Regions from separate parts of the Homo sapiens genome. Here all the other regions are linked to region 3. Evidence: promoter capture Hi-C in 16 types of primary human blood cells and fetal thymus (Javierre and others, 2016). All regions are on one chromosome and are shown on one strand. Each heading gives the region's core, a stretch centred on a gene start or on the middle of the fragment in contact. The rest is flanking DNA. Distances are from core to core; before and after follow the strand shown.

Region 1 (2,858 bases), core at 50-2,549, 420 kb after region 3:
AGACTCATTGTTTTGAAGGCAGGAGGCTCACAATGAGACTTGGGGAGGTGAAGTGATGCTTTGTTGCTAGAAACTGTGATGTGCAGTGGCCGCTCACCTTTCTGACATGCTTACAGGGCCGCCGGATGATTGACTTGATAAACATGTTGCCTCGGGTTTTTTGTTTTGTTTTGTTTTATTAAATTCCTGGTAGCTAACCTAAATATCCTGAGGTTGTGATGCCACCAAAATACATGACAGCTTTGAATGAGCTGTTCTGAAATCTAGGGCCATCACTGTCAAAGTGGACCGAGAAACCAAGACTAAATCCTGCCCAAGCAGCAGTGTGGGGGTGGAGGCAACCTAGCAGGCCCTCCCAGCCAGAGCTGACTGGGAGCAGCCTAGTGTGGATTTCTCCATCTGGTCATGTGTTTTGGTCTTTCCCTCATAAACACCATCTCTTTTTAGTCGAAAAGCCAATATTTGTTAAGGAGCAGAACACTATTTTTTACCCCAGTTCTTTCTCTCCCTTGTGCCTTACCCCAGTAGGCTGATGGGTACATCAGCCCACCTCTGAGTGGTACGGTAATGAAGCCAGCCTCACTCACCCCTGCCATCACACACTCTTTTTTTTTTTTTTTTTTTTGAGACGGAGTCTTGCTCTGTCGCCCAGGCTGGAGTTCAGTGGCACAGTCTCGGCTCACTGCAACCTCCACCTCCAGGTTCAAGCAATTCTCCTGCCTCAGCCATCCAAGTAGCTGGGATTACAGGCATATGCCACCACGCCTGGCTACTTTTTGTATTTTTAGTAGAGACATGGTTTCACCATGTTGGGCAGGCTGGTCTCTAACTTCTGACCTCAGGTGATCTGACTGCCTTGGCCTCCCAAAGTGCTGGGATTATAGGCATGAGCCATTGCACCCGGCCCATCACACACTGAGTAAAGCCAAGGGGTGTACTTGTTGATTTTTCCTGCAAGCCCAGCCGTATGCTTTGCACACAATTGCCTTTTAACCTCACAGCAACCCTCTAAGATGTGTTTCATTGCTTCTGTTTTCTAGTAGGGAAATGTGGTGTGGCCACAAACTAGTGAGGATGCGAGGACTTGAACCCAAGTCAGATGGCTCCAGGGTCTTTCCTGAGACCATACTCTCCCAGGCTCTTTCCTGGAGCAAGGAGTGTGAGCCTAAGGAGGCTTCAGTGGGGCACATGGAAGGTGGCTGAGTGCTGTGATTCTTCCTTCACAGACCAAGTATTATTTTATACCAGGAACAGTAAGGTAGGCCTCCGTGCCTCAGCCTTCTTAGACTTTATCACTGATGAATCGCTGTGTCTCAGGAGCTGCTGGCCAGACTGGCTTAATTGTTAATTTGTGCAGAGTCATTGAGGTATGGGTGGCAGGTCGCAAAAGATGATGTTTTGAGCCTCACTTGTGTTCTAAGAGAGCTCAGATTGTGTGTTGGGCTCTGTGGTTGCCTGTGAATGTGCAAAATATTTTTAATGCTAAAAACCAGGTATTACAGAATGTAGAAATGCAGCTTGGAGGAACAATTCTAGTTGGAATCCCAGATTCGTAAATTTGGTCTCTTGGCAGCTAGATTGCACTTTCTAGAGCTCAGGAAGATATAAAAGTTGACACTTTTATGTAGATTTATGTGGAGTGTGGCTGAATTGCCAATGCTTTTGTAGCTATAACTTTGAATTGCCTGACTTTTGTATTGAAAACAATGGTGCATTAACGTAGGCGTTGGCTTATTTGAAAAGCAGGCCAAAGGAAAAGACTTTTTATTTGACTTCTGTGGTGGTCTCCCTAAGGAGTCTTACCCACAAGCTATCCCACAGCTTGTGGGCAGATGTGAGCAACAGGAAGCCCCACCCCACAGACACAGGGTTCCCCCTTGGAGTTGCAGGCAGGGTTCAGTCTGGAATTTGGGTGCTGTGGGGCAGATTCTCATAGATGATCTTTAAACGTTTAGTTGTTCAACAACTATTTTATGGGAAGGGATGGACTCATGTTGTATCAAGAAAAACTGTATGCAACTTCAAAATAGGAAATTTACTACACAAATTTATTATGTAGATTTTCCAAGTCAGACAACTACTTGGAGGCACATTAAATGATTTAAAATTTAGGTAGTAAAATCAACCACTTATTACCAGTGAATAGCATTATGCACACATAATAGAGTTTCAGAATTTTATCTGCCTGCAACCCCAGACTTGACATGTCTCTCCCCTGGTTGGTCTCCGAGTTGGTAGAAGGCTTGGTGGTCGCATCATGCAGCATTCCTGTGTGCGCTGCAAGTCATGCTTAACAGAGATAGGGCTACCCCCGATGGAGAAGGGCAACTCACTTAACCGCCTCCATCTTTCCACTTTTGCTCATTGATGTTTAACATGTTATCAGTATGTATAGAATGGCCCCCAGAGAGTTGTTTGATTGATGCTTCTTTAATCAGCCTGTGATTATAGACTCAAACTGAAGAAATCTGAACTCACAGATCGGGGTTTCTCCACCTTGGCGCTATTGATTGACATTTGGGACTGGGTGATTATTTTGTTCTGGGGACTGTCTTGTTCACTATAGGTTTTTAAAGCAGCATCCCTGGCCTCTATCCACTAGATGCCAGTAGCACACATACAGCATACACACCCCAGTTGTGACAAACAAAAATGTCTCCAGTATTTGCCAGATGGTCTCTGGGGAACAAAATTTTCCCGGTTGAGCACTCTTCCTTTAGAGAAGGGAAGAAAGGACTATTAACATCACCTCTGTGGGTACTGAAACCCCTAGAAGACCCTTGTCTACAGAACTGGGTTTTGAATAGGCACTTCCCAGTGAAAATATGAAAATAGACTCTTGATTTCTAGCCAGGTGA
Region 2 (2,994 bases), core at 197-2,696, 500 kb after region 3:
TTGTCCCAAGCAGAAATGGATGGCAAAGGGGGTTTCTTCCTACCAGCTTGTGTCTCTGGACTTCAGATACATTAATGGTCTTTCTTACCCGTGCTTATTTTTACACCTCAGTCTTCTTACTTTTTTTTCCTCTTCCTTAGCAAGCCTCTCAGAGCGTCATTCTCCACAGCCCCGAGTTTGAGGATGCTTTGTGTGCCCTGATGGTAATGGCTGCTCCACTGGCCCCTCATGTAACCTCAGAGATCTGGGCAGGTACGTGGCAGAGTCCTTTTTTGACCAGTTACTACTAACTAGAATTTGTCGAAGCCTCTTTTTGAACATCATTCGGGACTCAGATGTCCTCAGATATAGGGTCCAACATTTGGCATCTATACTCAGCAACCTCTCTGTCCTGTACTCTGAATGGTAGTACTTCATCCACATGGTCACCCCTACCAAAAGGAAAGACACTTCCCTGCTTTGAATAATGTGCCCAGACTAATGTGGGTGTTGATGTTACCATCTTAATCCCTTCTCGTGACTCAGCCCCCCAGTATCCACATATTATGACCTGCGTGGTCTTTTTAAGATAAAAACTCATGTTTAATACCACTGTACAGGTGGAAATTAAGTTATAGGTCTAAACTTACACTGTAATTCAGCACTCTTCACCAATTATTCCTAATCTAGGCATCAAAGCAGGCCTGACTGCCTGCTTGAATTTCAGCCCCTAGAACCCTCCACATCATTGGGACTGTTAGCCTGGACAAAACCAGGACTTCACATAATCATCGAACTGGGATTAGGCCAAGCATATAGGGAGGGGCAAAGTGACATGTAATTGAGCTCCTGAAAGATCATGCATGCATGGGAAAGTCTTCAGATGTTTCTAGAAATAGGTCATCTGAAATGCATGTGACTTGGCAGTTTCGTTGACGTAAAAGATTTCTTCTAAAAAAAAGATCTCTCCTAATTAAATTTACTGATGTGGTGTCACAGAGAAGAAATGCATGTTGTTTAGTTGAGCAAACCACGAGTCTCAGTGTAAGCTTGAGTGATAAGAAGAATTTGAGGATTATTTGAAATTCCCACCACCCAAGCAACTTTATGCCTACAGGAAATAGGTGGAAATTACAGTAGGATTTATAGTTGACAGAGTATTGCCTGTGTCTCTCACAAAGCCTTGTTTATTGCCTTCTACTTTAAAACATAGTACTCCTTGTTGATTTGAGGGACTCATTGGGAATTGGGCCCTACCATCTCCCTCAGAGTTGCTTCTTAATTCCTCAGGAGGAGCAGTGGTTCCTTTTTCTTTTTAGCTAAGATGAGACTTATTTTTCCAGGGTCCCCTTTTTTACAGTATAAGTGTCTCTGTCAAAAGGAAGTGTTTTTCATTCCTTGAGGAAAAGCGAATCTGTTTTATTTCGCTTTCATTGTAAACCCATGAGCTTAGTTTGGATTTTTATCCTTTTTGATATCTAAAGCCACTTTAAAATTAAACTTGTTCAGCCAAATATTGAAGTTCACGTAGTGGGAGGATTTGCCAGCCAGTTTTTTGTTTATGTACCATATCTACAGTTTCTGACTTTAAGCATCAACCAAAAAAGTGGAAAGGGCTTTGGAAATCAGGAACTAATCCTAAAACCTGGGTAAGGATTTGGATGGGTCTGACTCTGAAGTTTCCTTTGGTTCATTCTTTGCTGCTTGCAAGACTGAATCAAGGTCCAGTTTACTTTAGCAGGAAAGAGATGTGGTGTAGCTCCCAACAGATTCTGCCCTACTTTATATGCTTTAAGACATCCTGATTGAGTACAAGTGTATTTCATTGTGTCTTAAGTCATCTTCTGGGTCTTTCCAGTTACTCTTTTAGTTACCCTTTTTAAACCAAGCTTTTGCAACTCCTGGCCCCCTCCAACAGGTGGCTTAGTTGGAAGAAGTCAGAGAGGCCTGGGTTGAGTGTACCCAAGATAAGTCTGAATTCTATATTAATTCCTGTCTTTCCATTCTGGAATTCGGGAAGTCCTTAATAATAGCATGCAGAGCTAAACACAACCACATAGCTTAAATACTAGCTACCAGTCAGTGTCAGATGCCTCTTTCATAGGGGTTGCAATTTTAAGTGACAATGAGGTAGTGCAACTGATTTAAAGTAGGAGGGGAAAGAGAGAGGAGGAGGAGAAGGCAATTATAAGGACTTCATGAGTTGAGCAAGATTTTAAACGTAAAGACGAAGGAGGTGAGGAAAGATGGGAAAAACTGAAATGTGTTTTCAGTGGATCTACAGGGGAGACAGTTTTTAAGTTTCTCACATTTTGAATCTTTAAGGGAGACAATTTTTGAGTCCGATTTATGTTAGAAACCTCTTTATACAATTAAAGAAATCATACCATTGGATAATCAGAATTGTTTTATCCTTTTTGTTCTAAGGAACCTCTCAAATGAACAATTTTGTTCCTATCAAAAGTTCCCCAAAGGGATCACTGTCATTCCAAATTGTCTTTGGAAATTTGTGGCACTTAAAAAGATATGCACAGGAGTTAGGGCTGTAATTAGAAAACATAAAGAAAGCCTGTGCTTGTGGTGGAGGAGGCAGTTTTAGATTGAAAAGACCAAGACATGAGCCGCAACATATCCATGGGTTGCTGCTTGTGGAATTTTGCATCTTGGTGCTTGATCAAAGTCAAGTCATCATTGATCAGGAGCCAGACAAAGCCTCCTGCTTATCGGTAGACAAAACTAACATAAAAGCAGTTCTCAGGAACACAAGAACAAGACTGAGGGAGAAGTCATTATGAGATTTTGCAATGGTGACTCGGGCACAGCGTGTCTCCAAGAAGTAACTGACTGACCACTTTACCACTTCACCCTTAGGGCTAGCTCAAGGACAAATTTATGGGACCTATTCCCATCCTCTCCCAGTGGACAAACAACATTCAAGATAGTACACAAGCAGATAGATAGGGCATTAGGCCAGCAGATGTTAGTTACTAGAAAACATTTTCACCAAAGAACAAT
Region 3 (3,018 bases), core at 496-2,995:
TTAGTTCTGTGTCTTCAGTCTCCTTCAGCCTGAAACACTTCCTCAGCCAGGAGCTTTGAAAATTACTGGCAGTCATTTTGCAGAATGCTCCTCCATTTGGGATTGTCTGATGTCTCTCTGGCCGGAGTCCTATGGAGTGATGCCACATTCTCACTGCAGCCCCCCAGGTGCTGCAAGCTTTTTATTGGCCCTGTTGATGTTTACTTTGGTCACAGATGAGGTGATGTCTGCCAGCCTTCTTCACCATGAAGTTGCTCTTTTTCTCTCTGGAATGGATAAGTGTTTTGTGGGCAGATACTTTGAGGCTATGTAAACATCCCATTGAAGAACATCAGACTTTCAATGCGTTCCCTTACTTACTTATATCTGTGTGCACTGGTGGTTTCCCATCTGTTACTGTCACTATGTTGGTGCTCAAATTGTCCCTGATTCTGACCACTGAAGGCTCCTTCAAGCTGGCTCTGTGTCCTACTGACGTGTTCCCATTATTCATTAAGCACTTCCTTGTTTTCTGGCAAAACAACAAGTTCCGGGCTCATTTTCTGCACCCCACTCCTACTTCCCAGTGCTAGAATCAGCCGTTTCTGCAAGGTGCTCTGGTTCCTTTAGTGGAAAGTCATATTCAGAAGCCAGTATTCAGGTGCTAGGAGTGCTCCAGGCTATGCGGGGCTGGCTGCTCCAGGCCCCCCAGTGACTGTGGGGACTAGACACACACACATTTCCATCTATATATATGGACTTATCTTTATGTATTCAAGGCCACAAGGGTACACTGATCATTCCGATTTTAATCCCACACAACAGGATTCATTCCAGTTTTCTCTCCATATACATAACTTCCTTCTCTGACAATAGGAAACCTAACTCCCACTGTCTTCAGTAGATTTATTTGATCAGTATCCCTGTGTGTAACCAATCTCCCGTCTCTGCCACCAGCCTCTCTCCCACATGGATCCCCTCCTTGCCTCACTTGGACTCCAGCACTCCAGGCAGGGCCTTTGCTTTCCCCAGGATGCTCCCTCCACCCTGCTGGGCTCCCACACCCCACACCAGTCCACCCCTTGAGGGCACATTCTCCCCACATCCTCTCTGGTACCTCTGGGGCACGATGGCTTCTCCCTCCGCCACCTTTGCTATGCCCCACTTTGTGGCTTTAGGACAGGACTCAGGAGAAAGGGAAGACAAGAAGGGAAGGAATCCCTTGGATTTTTTAACCAAAAAATGCATCAAGTACATGGAGACAGAGCCACAAAATAATCATAACAAATATTCTAAACCAATCAGACAGCCAGCCCCAGATCACCCTATAAGGGGGCATTGCTACCCCGTGACAGCTGGGTAGCCTGGGCAAATTCCCTAACCTCACCGAGCCTCAATTTCCTCAATGGTAAAATGGGGAAAGGACAGTGCTTCCCTCGTGGTTTGGGTGTGAAGCTTCTGTGAGTTAATGTTAGTGAACAGCCAGCCTCAGCCCCTACCCAAGGTAGCTGCTCCGCAGATGTGATGACAACCACCGTGTGTTTCTCAGAATCCTAGGAAATAAGGGCTTCTTTCTAGAAGGCAGGGCCAGGATGCTGCGTGGGTGTTCCCTGGCAGAGAGGCTCTGTGGCCCTCAGGACTTCATCCTTCTGCAGGCTTGTGTGTTTGTTTTATTTTTTTGGCACGCCTGCAGCCAAGTTGGGGAGGGTTTCCTGGACAGAGGTCCTTTGGCTGCTGCCTTAAGACGTGCAGCCTGGGCCGTGGCTGTCACTGCGTTCGGACCCAGACCCGCTGCAGGCAGCAGCAGCCCCCGCCCGCGCAGCAGCATGGAGCTCTGGGGGGCCTACCTCCTCCTCTGCCTCTTCTCCCTCCTGACCCAGGTCACCACCGAGCCACCAACCCAGAAGCCCAAGAAGATTGTAAATGCCAAGAAAGGTAAGGAGGGGGACAGAGCCCTGTGCCATCTTCCAGGGAGCAGGTCCCCCTCTCCTTAGTGTGTCCTCATGCTCCTTTCCTTCATTTTCCTCCTTTTGAGTCATCTAGGGAACTTGAGTAAAGTGGGCTTTGGGGCTTGGGGGAGTTCTCTCATAGCAGAGTTGGTTGTCAGAATCATAAGAATCCCTGACCCTTAGAGTTGGGAAGAACCTTCCAGATCATCCAAACTGATCTTTGCTCTTCTCTCCTCCCCTCATCCCCAATATTTTAAAGAAACCAAACCTTTGGCCTGGGAGTCTGGCAGCGCTCAGCCCTTACCAGGGAGAGCTGCACAGGCTGGGCTTTGGAGTCTTCCAACCTGTTTTCTCAACTGTAAAATGGGGACAGTGGTATTTGTTCAAAGACTTCTCATGAAGATTTTATGATACAAAATATATAAAGGCACCTCACTTGTTGCTTGATGCACAGGGAAAAGAAAAAGAAGAAGAAATGAATTCTCATTTCTGTAGCATATCACAGCCTTCAGGAAATAAATGTAACTCAGACTAGTCCACCAGAAGCAGCTTTGCTCTGCTTTGTAGCCTCTGGGGATTGGGGTGTCCCTCGGTTGCTTTGGCTACAGCAAGACTTGCCCTTGCAGCCCCGCCTGCAGTGAGGTCACCCCAGGCTGTGTTGAGACAACATCAGTGGAATGTCATGGCAATGGACGGGGCTGTCACCCCCCCAGGGAGCAGAGGCTAGAAGAGAGTCCAAGGGGATGAGGGTGGGGACTGAGGCAGAGAAACAAGCAGCTAGGACCAAGGGCACAGAAAAGGAAAGAAGGGGCTGTGGGGGCCTCCCTTAGGCCCTCCCGGGGCTCTTCATAAATGGACAGTTGCCCACTGGCCAGGAACTAGTGCAGTGCATAAAGGGACATCGGGGCCATGGGGCCTCACAACACTGTGACAAAGAATGGGGCAAATCTGGCTGCTGATAAAAAAATCATCTTCAAGATTCAGTTTACAAAGTGAAAAAAGAAACATTCAAAAGAGAATGAGTATGATGCTGACATTTGCTTTGAAAAAGGGATTTATATAATAATACATTTTTACTTGTATGTGCATA
Region 4 (2,969 bases), core at 137-2,636, 320 kb after region 3:
GCTTTGCCACCATGTATACCCCATTTTATCCTTCCAATACATTTAGCCAGCAATTGATGGGGATTTTCCAGAGCAATGTTCAAATATCAAATATCTGAGAGGTTGGACATCCTATCCCCAACAGAATAGGGCCTCGCAGCTAGAACAGCCCCTGGCATATAATAGGTGTCTAAAAACATTTGTTGAATGAATGAATGAAAAATTATTTTACTAGGAGATACCCAGAACGAGTCTTGCTGATACCCAAGGAGTGAGTAGGTCATTGCATATTCCCTGACCACCCCTAAAGTGGACACAGTGTGGGCAGGGAAAGGAAATAGTGCCCCAGGTCACTGCCCTGGAGGACCTGACTGTGTAATTTTAGAGGGAAAAATGCACTTGGAAGTTATGTAAGTTAGTAAACTTGCATCAGAAACAGAGCAGTGAGGAGGCAAACGGGGTAGTCCATCTGAAAGAGATGCCATTCACTCATCAGAACTGCTCTGAATGCTTCCTTAAAGCTGGTGGCACACTGGTGGCTGGGGGATGATGACTCCTGAGCTCACCCGCTGTCCTCCCACAGTCTTGAGCCTGGTGAAGTGGAGAGACGGGGAGAGGAATGCCCAGAGACAGAAAAAGTGTAGGTTTTAGACTTGAAAAGATATTGATTTAATTGTGTTTCCCTTAAAATTAAGGTAGAAATTTGATCAAGAATTAAGGAGCAAAAATTCTATTTTTAAGTCCATGAAATTTAGTTTATGAAATCTACTTTTAGAGCCAAGGCAGAGAGTGTAGATTATGTAGTCCACCCCACTACCCCTTTATTATTGGATGTGGAAACAGAAGCTCAGATCAGCCTAGGAGCTGTTTTCCATGTAAGAAAGAGGGTTTATATGCCTCAGGCAAGGAGTTCGCAATCTTTAGACAGTCATATATGATGGGAAGAGCATACAATACGAGAACTATTTTCACTGCGGTCATGGAATTTTATTGACTTTTAAAATTTCATACATCCTTAAAGCTGAACATGAGATTTGTGTGCTTTTTCAAAGTGAGAGTATACACCTGACCCAAGCTTCTTCAAAAGTATCATGGTCAGAAAAGATAGGGAAAGGCCCAGACACTGCCCAGATCAGAGGACACTGGGAGATATAATGACTGAATGTGCCCTGAGCAGTGTACCATGAGGATGTAAGATGTTATTAATACTAGAGGAACTTTGATGAAGGGCCTACAGGAATTTTCTGTACCATCCTTACAACTCTCTTCTATAATTCTCAAATTATCTGAAAATAAAAAGTAATTATCTGAAAATAAAATTACCTGAAGGAGAGTATGATGTGTTAGACTGTATTTTCTACAAATGGTTGCGACAATGTTTCTGGTCCCACATGCTCTCCTAAAGTTTGCCACTCCCTCATCAAGAGGTGGAGCCCATGTTCTCTCTCTTGAATGGGGACAGATTACTTAACTTCTTTGTGTCTCAGTTGCCTCTGTAAAATGGGGAAAAAATACTAGCATTGTTTTTATTATTAAATAAGGGGATATATCAAAGCACTTAGGCCATGCTTGGAAATGTTGGATGTCATTATTATTGCAGGACACAAGTTAGGAACCCAGTTATCAGTACTGGGACACACTAGTCAGAGCTGAACAACAAAAGCAACTTAATACTGAATCCCTGAAGTTTCTTAAATTCCTTCTGCTTCAGGGGATAATTCTTCCTGGGTTGGGGACACCAAGCTTGCCAGGGGGATCTGGCGGGAATGGGATGGAGAAGACAAACACAGAGACCAGAAATGGACATAGCATGTAGTGCACTTGTTTAGGGAAGGAGTAAAACCCCAAAGTCTGGGGTGATCAGGAATGGTGTCAAGGAGATGGTGATCTGAAGTTGGACCTTGAAGGCTGGCTCAGGTGCAGGTGTGCAGAAAGGCAGGCGAAGTTAGCAGAGGTAGAACACGAGGCGTGTTCTCAGGATCTGCCTGACTGTAGGTAGGGGTTCCCACAGATGAGCTCCAGGAGATAGAGTCAGAAAGGTAAATTGGGGCCAGGCCTTGATTGGCTTTGAATGACCTACTCAGGAGTTTGGGTCGCGGAACAACCTAAGCAGAAGACACATTTCAGGAAGTGAAGTCTGGCAAAGGGTGAGCTGGATTGGAGAAAGAGGAGAAGAGAGAGAGAGAGACACCAGGTGGAGGTGAGAATTGACAGGAAGTTGAGAGAGGCTGGGAATGTGGTGACCAATTCCCTGCCTGGTCCTCGCAAGCAAAGAGCAGGCAGTGGTAGGGGTGAGGTACAGTTTTAGTGCTTGGGTACAGTTTTAGTGCTATTTGCCTCAAGTTATCCTTCTTCCTTGATTTTTACCAGTAGACAATGGTAAAAAATAATCTGTACATTTCATCATTTAAAGGCTGATGGACTCTTGCCATGAACTCAAAGATTCCTGTCAATTTCATAAGCACTCCGTAGCCAAACCCTCTTCCTCCAAGGTCACACAATCCATCAAATGGCACAAGGTGGAGCTTATACCTGAGACTGGCCACTCAGGGCACTAAATCAACATACTGATGGTGATTGGTCCAGAGGTTGTCCTTGGACCCCAGTGAGGCCAATCAGAGTCCTTTCCTGGGATTGTAAGGACTTTGTGAGAAAGAGGGACCCCTTGTGGTAGTTTTAACAGAACGCCACAAGTTTTTGATACTTCTCCCTTAGAACTAGAGCCCATGTAGCCCAAGATGCTTCTCTTGAATCTGGGCAGGATTGTAACTGCTTTGACCATAGACTATAACAGAAGTGATGCCATTTGACATTTGAGGCCATGGCCTAAAAGATCTCTGGACTCTGTCTTGTTTGCTGAAACACTTGCTCTTAGAGCCCTGAGCCACCATGTGGAAGAAGAAAGACAGAAAGAATGAGAATAAACCCCCAGTCATTTAAGCCATTCCACTCAAGGTGCCAGACACAGTAAAAAGGCACTTAGGTGATAC
Region 5 (2,825 bases), core at 238-2,737, 510 kb before region 3:
ATTTATAGGTTATGAAAGGGCGATAGTTTACCTGGGATGCAGGGAACTATATTGAGATTCTTGTTCTCCAAAGAATGTTGAACAGACTTATGTTCCAAGTTCCTTCTGGCACCAAGTCTAATGTTACTGTCAAGAAAGCAAACTGGCCAGGCGCGGTGGCTCACGCCTGTAATCCCAGCACTTTGGGAGGCCGAGGCGGATGGATCACGAGGTCAGGAGTTCAAGACAGCCTAGCCAAGATGGTGAAACCCTGCCTCTACTGAAAATACAAGAATTAGCCAGGCATGGTGGTGGGCGCCTGTAATCCCAGCTACTCGGGGGGCTGCGGCAGAGAACTGCTTGGATCCGGGAGGCAGAGGTTGCAGTGAGCCAAGACCGTGGCCACTGCACTCCAGCCTGGGTGACAAAGTGAGACTCTGTCTCAAAAAAAAAAGAAAAAAAAAAGAAAGCAAACTAAAGTGAATAAAATAGTCGGTAAAGGCTGTATTCAGCTTATGTGTGTATCAGTGAGCACCTCGAAATGAGGCAAATCTCTGAGCCAAAGAAACATTGGAGTTTTTGTAAGGTGAGAAGAGAAGGCTACAGATTGTGCTCTTGCTTCTGGCTACAGTTTTCTTTATGTGTAACTGCTGTGAAGCTTAGGGTTGGAATGGAAGCATGTGTTCGATTATTAATGCCTGTTTCTCTGGATCCTTGGTGCAATTTCTTTTTGGCAACTCTCAGGACACTTCTTTGGAGAGCTATCTTTGTAAGTTTTGCAGGTCGTCTGTTATAAACTAATGCTAGTTAAGGTTCAGGGGAGTGGGGGGATAGATGGGTGGATCATTTGAGGTCAGGAGTTCGAGATCAGCCTGACCAACATGGTGAAACTCTGTCTCTGCTAAAATACAAAAATTAGCACCTGTAATCTCAGCTACTCGGGAGGCTGAGGCGGGAGAATCACTTGAACCCAGTAGACGGAGGTTGCAGTGAGCCAAAATCGCACCACTGCACTCCACCTGAGTGACAAGAATGAGACTTCCTCAAAAAAAAAAAAAAAAAAGAAAAGAAAAGTAAGAAAGAAAAGAAATGAAAAGACAGCAAAGGCAGGGGAGAAGATTTTTTTTTTTTAAAAAAAAAAGGAAAAGAGGCAAAGTTCTGAAGAAAGGAAAACTGGAATCTATTTTAATTCTTTTTTTTTTTTTTTTTTTTTTTTGAGACGGAGTATCACTCTGTTGCCAGGCTGGAGTGCAGTGGCGTGATCTCAGCTCACTGCAACCTCTGCCTCCCGGGTTCAAGTGATTCTTCTGCCTCCACCTCCCAGGTAGCGTAGCTGGGGCTACAGGTGTGCACGACCATGCCCGGCTAATTTTTGTATTTTTAGTAGAGATGGGGTTTCACCATATTGGCCAGGCTGGTCTCTAATTCCTGACCTCATGATCTGCCCGCCTTGGCCTCCCAAAGTGATGGAATTACAGGTGTGAGCCACTGCGCCCAGCCTATCTTAATTCTTTTAGAGGACAGAGACATTCTAGAGAGACAGAGTGGGACATTTGTCCTGTATCACTGCTGAACTCCAGACACCTGCAGTGCCCATGTCTAGGCTCTGTTCTGCTTCCTTGTGGGGACACACAACAGAAGAGAGACAGTCCCTCAGTGGCACAGACATCCTCACCACTACTGCTATAGAGTTCAGGAGCAGGAGAACGAGGCACAAACAAATAAAGAAATAGACCTTACAGGAGCTCCCGAGTTCCCATCATCCCCCAGAGAAGAGTGCTTAAAAAGAAAAATACCAGGATTCCACCCATCATGGAAAGGGCTCCAGAAAGATACTGTGCCATCCCACAATGGTCTATGTATCAATAGGGATCACCCACAGACACCAGCAAGGTGCTTGCCTATGTAAATGGGAGCTTCCTGCAGGGAGGTACAGCTTTTGTTAGCAGAATCTCAACTTCAAGGCTGGTATCAGCCTGTTTTTTGCTAAGCCCATTCAGATCTGCTGAGCCAATTCTCCAAGAAGGGAGAAAAGCGGGAGGGAAGAGGAAATAAGCCTCCTGAGCCAACTGGAGTTCTCACTCCACACAGTGAATTTGGAGTGACTAATACTGAGGGGCCAGAATAAATGAGGGGCTGATGGAAGGCTGGCAGTTCAGGTCCTGAAGGTCTTACTGAAGAGAAAATGGATATAATGGGTATGAAGGAGGTAGGGGGATCTCCTTTTGGACTTGGCATATTTCCTGTGAAAACAAAACACAGAAAAACCAAAAAACAAAAATACCCTTATCAAGGTTCTTCAAGAGGTTGAAACAAGTTCTATGAGACCTTTCCAAGGCAGATTTCAAAATCCCCTATGAAGCTTGCTGGCCATGGCATTAAACAAATTGGAGTTTAGATTAAGCTCTTTAAGTTCTTTTTAGAACATATGTAACCAAGACTTTATTAAAAGAATCATAAGCTGTTTTACTTTTTTTTTTCCTTCCTCCATGCATGCTTGCACATAGTCACTTCAGTAGAGGGTAGTCACTAGTAATTGATTAATTTCATATCCTAACCCCTGTGGCTGCCTGCAAGATTGATAAACTTGTTTTTCTTTCTTTTTTTTTTTTTTTTTTTTGAAACAGAGTCTCGCTCTGTTACCCAGGCTGGAGTGCAGTGGTGAGATCTCGGCTCACTGCAACTTCTGCCTCCCGGGTTCAAGCAAGTCTCCTGCCTCAGCCTCCTAAGTAGCTGGGATTACAGGTGCACACCACCACGCCCAGCTAACTTTTGTATTTTTAGTAGAGATGGGGTTTCACCATGTTGGTCAGGCTGGTCTCGAACTCCTGACTTCGTGATCTGCC
Region 6 (2,830 bases), core at 222-2,721, 340 kb after region 3:
CAGAGAAAGGCTGGTTTGTCTTACATATTTAGAAACTATGTTTGGGAGAAGGGAGAAACATGAAGGGTAAAAAAAGACTGAGGGAAATGAGGTGGGAGAAGAGAGAGAGAAAGACTAGAAAGAAGGGGCTTGAGGGAGCTCCTCAGATACTTATTCTGATTGATCCGAAAGGCGATTAGTTCAGCTGTGTTTGGTACCATCCTCTCTACTTGGGTGTGTTTGTCAACAGCCACCAGGAAGCCACTGTCAGGCGAAGCACGTGCTGGCAAGCCCTTCCAGCCACTGAAGGATGTGGTGGTGCAGTTACATTATTGTTGTTATTCCTATCAGCTGACCAGTTCCCCAGCTCCCTCCTTGAGCCTTGTGCTTGTTAAATTTTTTACAGACACAATCTCTACACCCCATAAGTTGGGCAGCATAAGAAACTAAAGCCTACTTGTTCTCTATTCGTCTGCTGTATAATTGGGCCTGGAAAATACTTAACTAGGTCTTTGGGAGCAATACATAATTTGCTGTCCTCTGTATATAAGCTGAACTGCTGATTGAGGATCAAAGGAGCATGATCATTGATTTAATTAACTTATAGACTACTTGGTGGGGGGCAATAGACATACACATGAAGTCGGGGGCTAATTAACCCTACAAGAATATAAGAGACACTAAAAGTCACTATGACTAAATGCCCAATTGATGGCAGAAATGTAAGAGATATAGGATCCATTAAAAGTTCTTTATTAGAATTGCAGATATCACCAAAAGATGGGCAAGATACATTTAATACATTTGCAAATAAATGTGTGTCACCTATAACCCATTCTTAGACTAACAACAACAAATTCTAAATATCTGCAGGTCAAATGTAACTCAATACTGTTTTATAAAATACAGTATTTCTTCAAATAGGATCATCTTTTTCTAGAAGCAATCACAAGGCCTAAGGAGATTTGCAGCAATGGAAAGGATTTTTTTTCTCCCCTGTAATGAATAGATTAAAAGCTTAATCCCAAGGTCTGTCTCTGAGTCCAAGTATAATTGTGGTATGAGTCATTCTGAATGGGTTTTTTCATATACACTCAGCACTGTAAGGCATTTAGGGGAAAGCATCAAAGTTTTGAAAGATAATAAAAGAGACAACTTTCAGCAAACCTTGTGACCCTGAAAGGGATGCCCAAGATGAATCCCTTTCAGTATCAGGCTCCTAAGAAAACACTGATTTTACTTCAGGACACTTGAGGCCTGGATTGTCTTGTGAGGAGTTTCAGAAGGGCATCCACTCCTATATTCCTAGTTACTGACCTGTCAGATGCTGGCTTTGCAAAGATCGTCGTTAGTCCTTTGGCTCATCAATGCCAGGCCTATCCTGCAGGTCAGCGTGAAGCAATGTGAAAAAATGGTCCATCCAATTCCTGAGTCTATTCCCAAGAAGCAAGGCTTACAGATAGTGGGAAATTGATTTATTATCAGTGCTTAAAAGAGAATAATTTAAAATTTTCTTGGGGTTCAGAAGAGTAAACACTTGAAATAAGACCTGTTTGGACATTGCATGGGTGAAGTGATGCTCTAAAGAAGTTGAGGCTCAATTTGAGGAAAACCAGGACAGATGACCTTCAGAGCAAGAAACAAAGCATGCCTTTCATCTTTACCTTTGTGCATGGAGGGGAAAGATTGACTACATGGGATGATGGCTAGTTGACAGGCCTGTTGCTTTTTACTCAACAGACATTTAACTCGTATTTATCAAGCAAGTATGTGTAGCAAGGATTGAGGGAGGCAGCCCAGCTTTAGTGGTTAAGAGCATGAGCTCTGGAGCCAGACTGCCTGGGTTCAAATCCCAGTCTAGCACTTGCTAGCTGTGTGGTGTTGAGTGGTTTTTCTTAATCTCCCTGGGTCCCAATTTCCTCATCTGCAAAACAATGATCATAGTACCTATTGAGAGGGTTTGTTATAAAGCTTAGATGGATTAATATTTATTAAGGGTTTAACACACTGCCTGATGACACATATTAAGTGCTCAACAAATATTAGTTGCTAAGGTTGATAGGTGCTGTGTCAGATGCAAAGATAAATCCAGAAGAGGGAGATAGCCAGGTACAGACTTTACACACAAATGGTGTCCACATAAGAATGTTGGGTTTAAATTGCTTTTTTCCCTATCTTGTATCTACGTTCCATTCAGAAAGTAACAGGAGTAGAGGGCTGTCCCCTGGACTGGGGCCTAAGAGAAGGTATAGGGAACTCAGGGAGAGGCTCCTCCTCAGAGAAGTCTTTTCTGCAGATTCATCCAGTTCAGCAAGCATGAGCCCTGGGGCCCCACCAATTCAAGGAGGAGCTAAATTGGCAGATGTTTATTGAGCCAGGACTATAATCAAGGAAGCTGGCTGGCTGCTGCAGGAATGGAGAAACAAACATTTACTGAAAGCCCCATGTGCCAGGCATTATATGAGGCATTTTCCATGAATTATTGTACTTACAAGTGGCACCATCCCTAAAAGGTAGGCATTCTCATTTTTACCCTATTTACAGGTGAAAAAAATCAAAGGTAGGTGATTTGTCCAAGCTCACACATCAGCAAGTGACTGAGCCTCAATTCTTCCCCAGAACGGTCTTCTTTCTGAGCTTATTCGCTTGCTATGGTATTTCCCGGGGTGTGTACAAGACTCAGTTCATGCCCTCAAAGAACTTACAGTCTGGCAGGAATATCACAGATGAAAACTCCGTACCATTTCTTCCTCCACTGAATGGTCAGTAATAGGGAGAGATTTCTTCCTTTCCTATACAATCTTAGTATTTTTTTTTTCTTTTTTTAGGTGAGGTCTCACTCTGTCACCTA
Region 7 (2,849 bases), core at 350-2,849, 370 kb after region 3:
AATGTGTTGCTTTCCATCCTGTTTGTATAAATCCATTGTAGTTGTCATTTCAGCAGTTCCAGATGATTTTCTAATTTGTGTATGATCCAGATTTCTTAATTGTTCTCTTTTTCCCATCTCTTCCTTCAGGCAGCTTAACACTCCTTGGTAATTTCTAGAGGATGGGCAGCACAAAGAAAAGTTCTACTCTAGTTTTTGTGGGTTTCTTTTTGCCACGTGCTAATGGTTCCGTTAAAGGTTTGTTTAACTTCTTTGCTGAAAGAAGTTTACGAACTCCTTGGCAAGAATCTGATTTCTGGTTTCTTCTGCTCTACTGATTATATTTGGTTTATGTGTATTATCAGTCATGCGAACATTCAGCAAACAATATTTAAAAACCCCATCCCACATATGTACATAAAAGAAGGGTTATGAATATTCTGTTTCGTGTTTGTTTGCATTACTTCAGGGGAAGCAAATTCTTAAAGAACTGGAGTAAAGTTCTAGCAAGGGAATAAGGCCAGGAAGAAAAAACAGAAGGCAGAAATAAATAAAAGCAGAAGTTCTGACCCTTAGTGACGAAACAGAATCAGTTACCCAGTTACCTGTTGCTCTTCCTTTCTCTCCAGCCCCTCCACCCTTGACCCTGTCATGAGATGATTTAAACTTGGGTGTGGGGAACCCTCCTATTACTTGGGTAGGATTTGTGAAGTTTGCTGGGTAAAAAGTGCTCCATAGGGGCCAGTTATCAGGCTTTTGGAGCACAAAGGCCAACGAACATTTATCCAACATTTTATGAAACTCCTGCTGGCACTGGGGGCAGACGTGGAGAAAGAGGTGACTAAAGCACAGTTCTTGCCCTTGAACAGTAGGTCCCCCCATGAACAGTAGGTCCCCCCAGTAGGAGTTAATTCAAGGACTACCATCTTTGTTTGCCTTATCCATTCATGTGCACACTCATGACGACATTCATCATTTTACCAGGGGAAGAATTAAGATGCCAGAAGTCAGTGATCCAATAAGGACTCATTGGCCTGTGTTCCTTCTGTTCAGATACATGTACAGTTGTCTATGTTTCTCATGATGAAGCTGCTTCTTTGGAAGCTGGAGAGTTATATAACCCTGGTCTGAGGCTGCTTATTTATCATCCCTGGAGAACAACAACCTTCTCCCTTTTTAAAAGGATCTTCTCATTACCTTCCCATTTCAACATTTTTGTTGAAAGATAGGCTCTCAATACAATGGGGAAACTCAGGACCCAAATTGGTACTTTAGGATCCTGTTATTACTGCTAAACCTACGTCAGAATGCAGCTATAGAGAATTTAGGAAGAGACTCCATTTTTAGAGATGTTACATCTATGTGATTCAACTATTGCTTCTTTGAATTATATGGATATATGTATGTTAGAGCTTCCTTCGGAAAAACAAACAGTTCTTTAAGGACCTAGATAGAAGCTGTCTTAAAAGAGAAGTGTTTTTTTGTTTTGTTTTGTTTTGTTTTGTTTTTTTAATGGAGTAGCCATTCTTTTATCCCTTTACTTTCCTAATAATCTTGCTTTCGCTTTCTTCTACAGACTGGCGCTGAATTCTTTCTTGCGTGAGATCCAAGAACCCTCTCTTCGGGTCTGCATTGGGACCGCTTTTCTTTCTTTCTTTTTTTTTTCCATAGGTTTTTGGGGTACAGGTGGTATTTGGTTACATGAGTAAGTTATTTAGTGGTGATTTGTGAGATTTTGGTGCACCCCTCACCCGAGCAGTATAGGCTGTACTCTATTTGTAGTCTTTTATCCTTCACCCCCCTTTCCACCCTTCCCCCAAAGTCCCCAAAGTCCATTGTATCATTCTTATGCCTCATAGCTTAGCTCCCACATATCAGTGAGAACATAAGATGTTTGGTTTTCCATTCCTGAGTTACTTCATTTAGAATAATAGTCTCCAATCTCACCCAGGTCACTGCAAATACTGTTAATTCATTCCTTTCAAAAAATAAGTTTTTAAAAGAGAAAAAAAAAAGATATATGGGTACTTAACACTTAGAGGTTGTTTGGCATTATTTTGGACATTCTTTAGCTTAAACCAGGGCTTTGAATTTTGCTTTTTGACATTTTAATTGATTTACATTCTGGGAACACTCTTTTTAAAAGGAAACTTTTAAAATGTTAAATTATTACTTTGTGTAAAATGCCAAAATATTATGTATACATGCAGAGTTCCCAGAAAATGCTTAATAAATACTCATTGTCGTTCTTTCCTAGAAATCGAAGCCAAAATTTTACGTGCTTTCCATGTTCCCTTATCCTTCTGGTAAGCTGCACATGGGCCATGTGCGTGTCTACACCATCAGCGACACCATAGCACGGTTCCAGAAGATGAGAGGGATGCAGGTAAGAACAGGTGCCTGCTGGAGCAGCCCTTGTCTGCCACACGCAGGGTTGGCATGTAGTAATATGTGTTCAAGACAAATGAAGAAAACCAACTTTAGTTAAGATTAGGACAGCTTTGAAGATGGACATGAAAAGCTCAGTGTTTCCTTTTATGGATTAGATGATATTATAATAAAGCATCTAGGTTAATTGGGGGGCAGCCATGAGTTGGGTGTTGTGCTGGGGTGGAGATCAGATGGGAATGGGGTGAAAGGTAGATACAAATGTGGATAACACTGATAATCTTCCCAGGAGATACTCACCCATGAGTAGAGAATCATTGTATATAACGAACTGAGGTCAACAGTACAAATACACATCAGTGCTATGAGTGGCAGGTGAGACTGCAAGATATTTCTTTCTGTTCTATTTGATATTTTCCATATTCTTTGAGCATGTATTTCTTTTCTTTTTTTTTTGAGGCGGAGTCTTGCTCTGTCGCCCA

The links. The method cuts DNA at HindIII sites, captures the fragments that hold promoters and counts their contacts. A CHiCAGO score of 5 or more calls a contact.
Region 1: a contact is called between a fragment that was not itself captured here and the fragment with the promoter of CLEC3B in region 3, in 1 of 17 cell types (M1 macrophages). The highest score is 5.1, in M1 macrophages.
Region 2: a fragment that was not itself captured here is called in contact with the fragment with the promoter of CLEC3B in region 3 in 6 of 17 cell types (endothelial precursors, M1 macrophages, monocytes and 3 more); the score reaches 7.5 in endothelial precursors.
Region 4: a fragment that was not itself captured here is called in contact with the fragment with the promoter of CLEC3B in region 3 in 1 of 17 cell types (erythroblasts); the score reaches 6.4 in erythroblasts.
Region 5: a contact is called between a fragment that was not itself captured here and the fragment with the promoter of CLEC3B in region 3, in 1 of 17 cell types (endothelial precursors). The highest score is 5.0, in endothelial precursors.
Region 6: a fragment that was not itself captured here is called in contact with the fragment with the promoter of CLEC3B in region 3 in 1 of 17 cell types (megakaryocytes); the score reaches 5.5 in megakaryocytes.
Region 7: a contact is called between a fragment that was not itself captured here and the fragment with the promoter of CLEC3B in region 3, in 2 of 17 cell types (neutrophils and activated CD4 T cells). The highest score is 5.5, in neutrophils.

Annotation. Positions count from the first base shown.
Region 1 is chr3:45,440,419-45,443,276 of GRCh38, forward strand. All of the region lies in intron 6 of LARS2 (leucyl-tRNA synthetase 2, mitochondrial), which reads left to right. Among named protein-coding and RNA genes, the nearest start is that of LARS2, 53 kb to the left of the region's middle. The HindIII fragment of the contact is 3,137 bases long and covers 1-2,858 here.
Region 2 is chr3:45,523,857-45,526,850 of GRCh38, forward strand. LARS2 (leucyl-tRNA synthetase 2, mitochondrial) reads left to right here. Exons shown (of 22, transcript NM_015340.4): 20 at 141-252. Among named protein-coding and RNA genes, the nearest start is that of LARS2-AS1, 16 kb to the left of the region's middle. The HindIII fragment of the contact is 840 bases long and covers 1,027-1,866 here.
Region 3 is chr3:45,024,558-45,027,575 of GRCh38, forward strand. CLEC3B (C-type lectin domain family 3 member B) reads left to right here and starts at 1,746. Exons shown (of 3, transcript NM_003278.3): 1 at 1,746-1,914. The coding sequence starts at 1,806. RefSeq lists enhancers at 2,126-2,627, 2,628-3,018. The HindIII fragment of the contact is 8,892 bases long and covers 1,433-3,018 here.
Region 4 is chr3:45,341,550-45,344,518 of GRCh38, forward strand. LOC105377062 (a long non-coding RNA gene) reads right to left here. Exons shown (of 3, transcript XR_940798.2): 2 at 1,303-1,472. Among named protein-coding and RNA genes, the nearest start is that of LARS2, 46 kb to the right of the region's middle. The HindIII fragment of the contact is 668 bases long and covers 1,053-1,720 here.
Region 5 is chr3:44,519,415-44,522,239 of GRCh38, forward strand. No RefSeq gene overlaps it. Among named protein-coding and RNA genes, the nearest start is that of ZNF852, 10 kb to the left of the region's middle. The HindIII fragment of the contact is 1,704 bases long and covers 636-2,339 here.
Region 6 is chr3:45,364,190-45,367,019 of GRCh38, forward strand. No RefSeq gene overlaps it. Among named protein-coding and RNA genes, the nearest start is that of LARS2, 23 kb to the right of the region's middle. The HindIII fragment of the contact is 954 bases long and covers 995-1,948 here.
Region 7 is chr3:45,398,009-45,400,857 of GRCh38, forward strand. It overlaps LARS2 (leucyl-tRNA synthetase 2, mitochondrial), which reads left to right. Exons shown (of 22, transcript NM_015340.4): 4 at 2,237-2,365. Among named protein-coding and RNA genes, the nearest start is that of LARS2, 11 kb to the left of the region's middle. The HindIII fragment of the contact is 7,408 bases long and covers 1-2,849 here.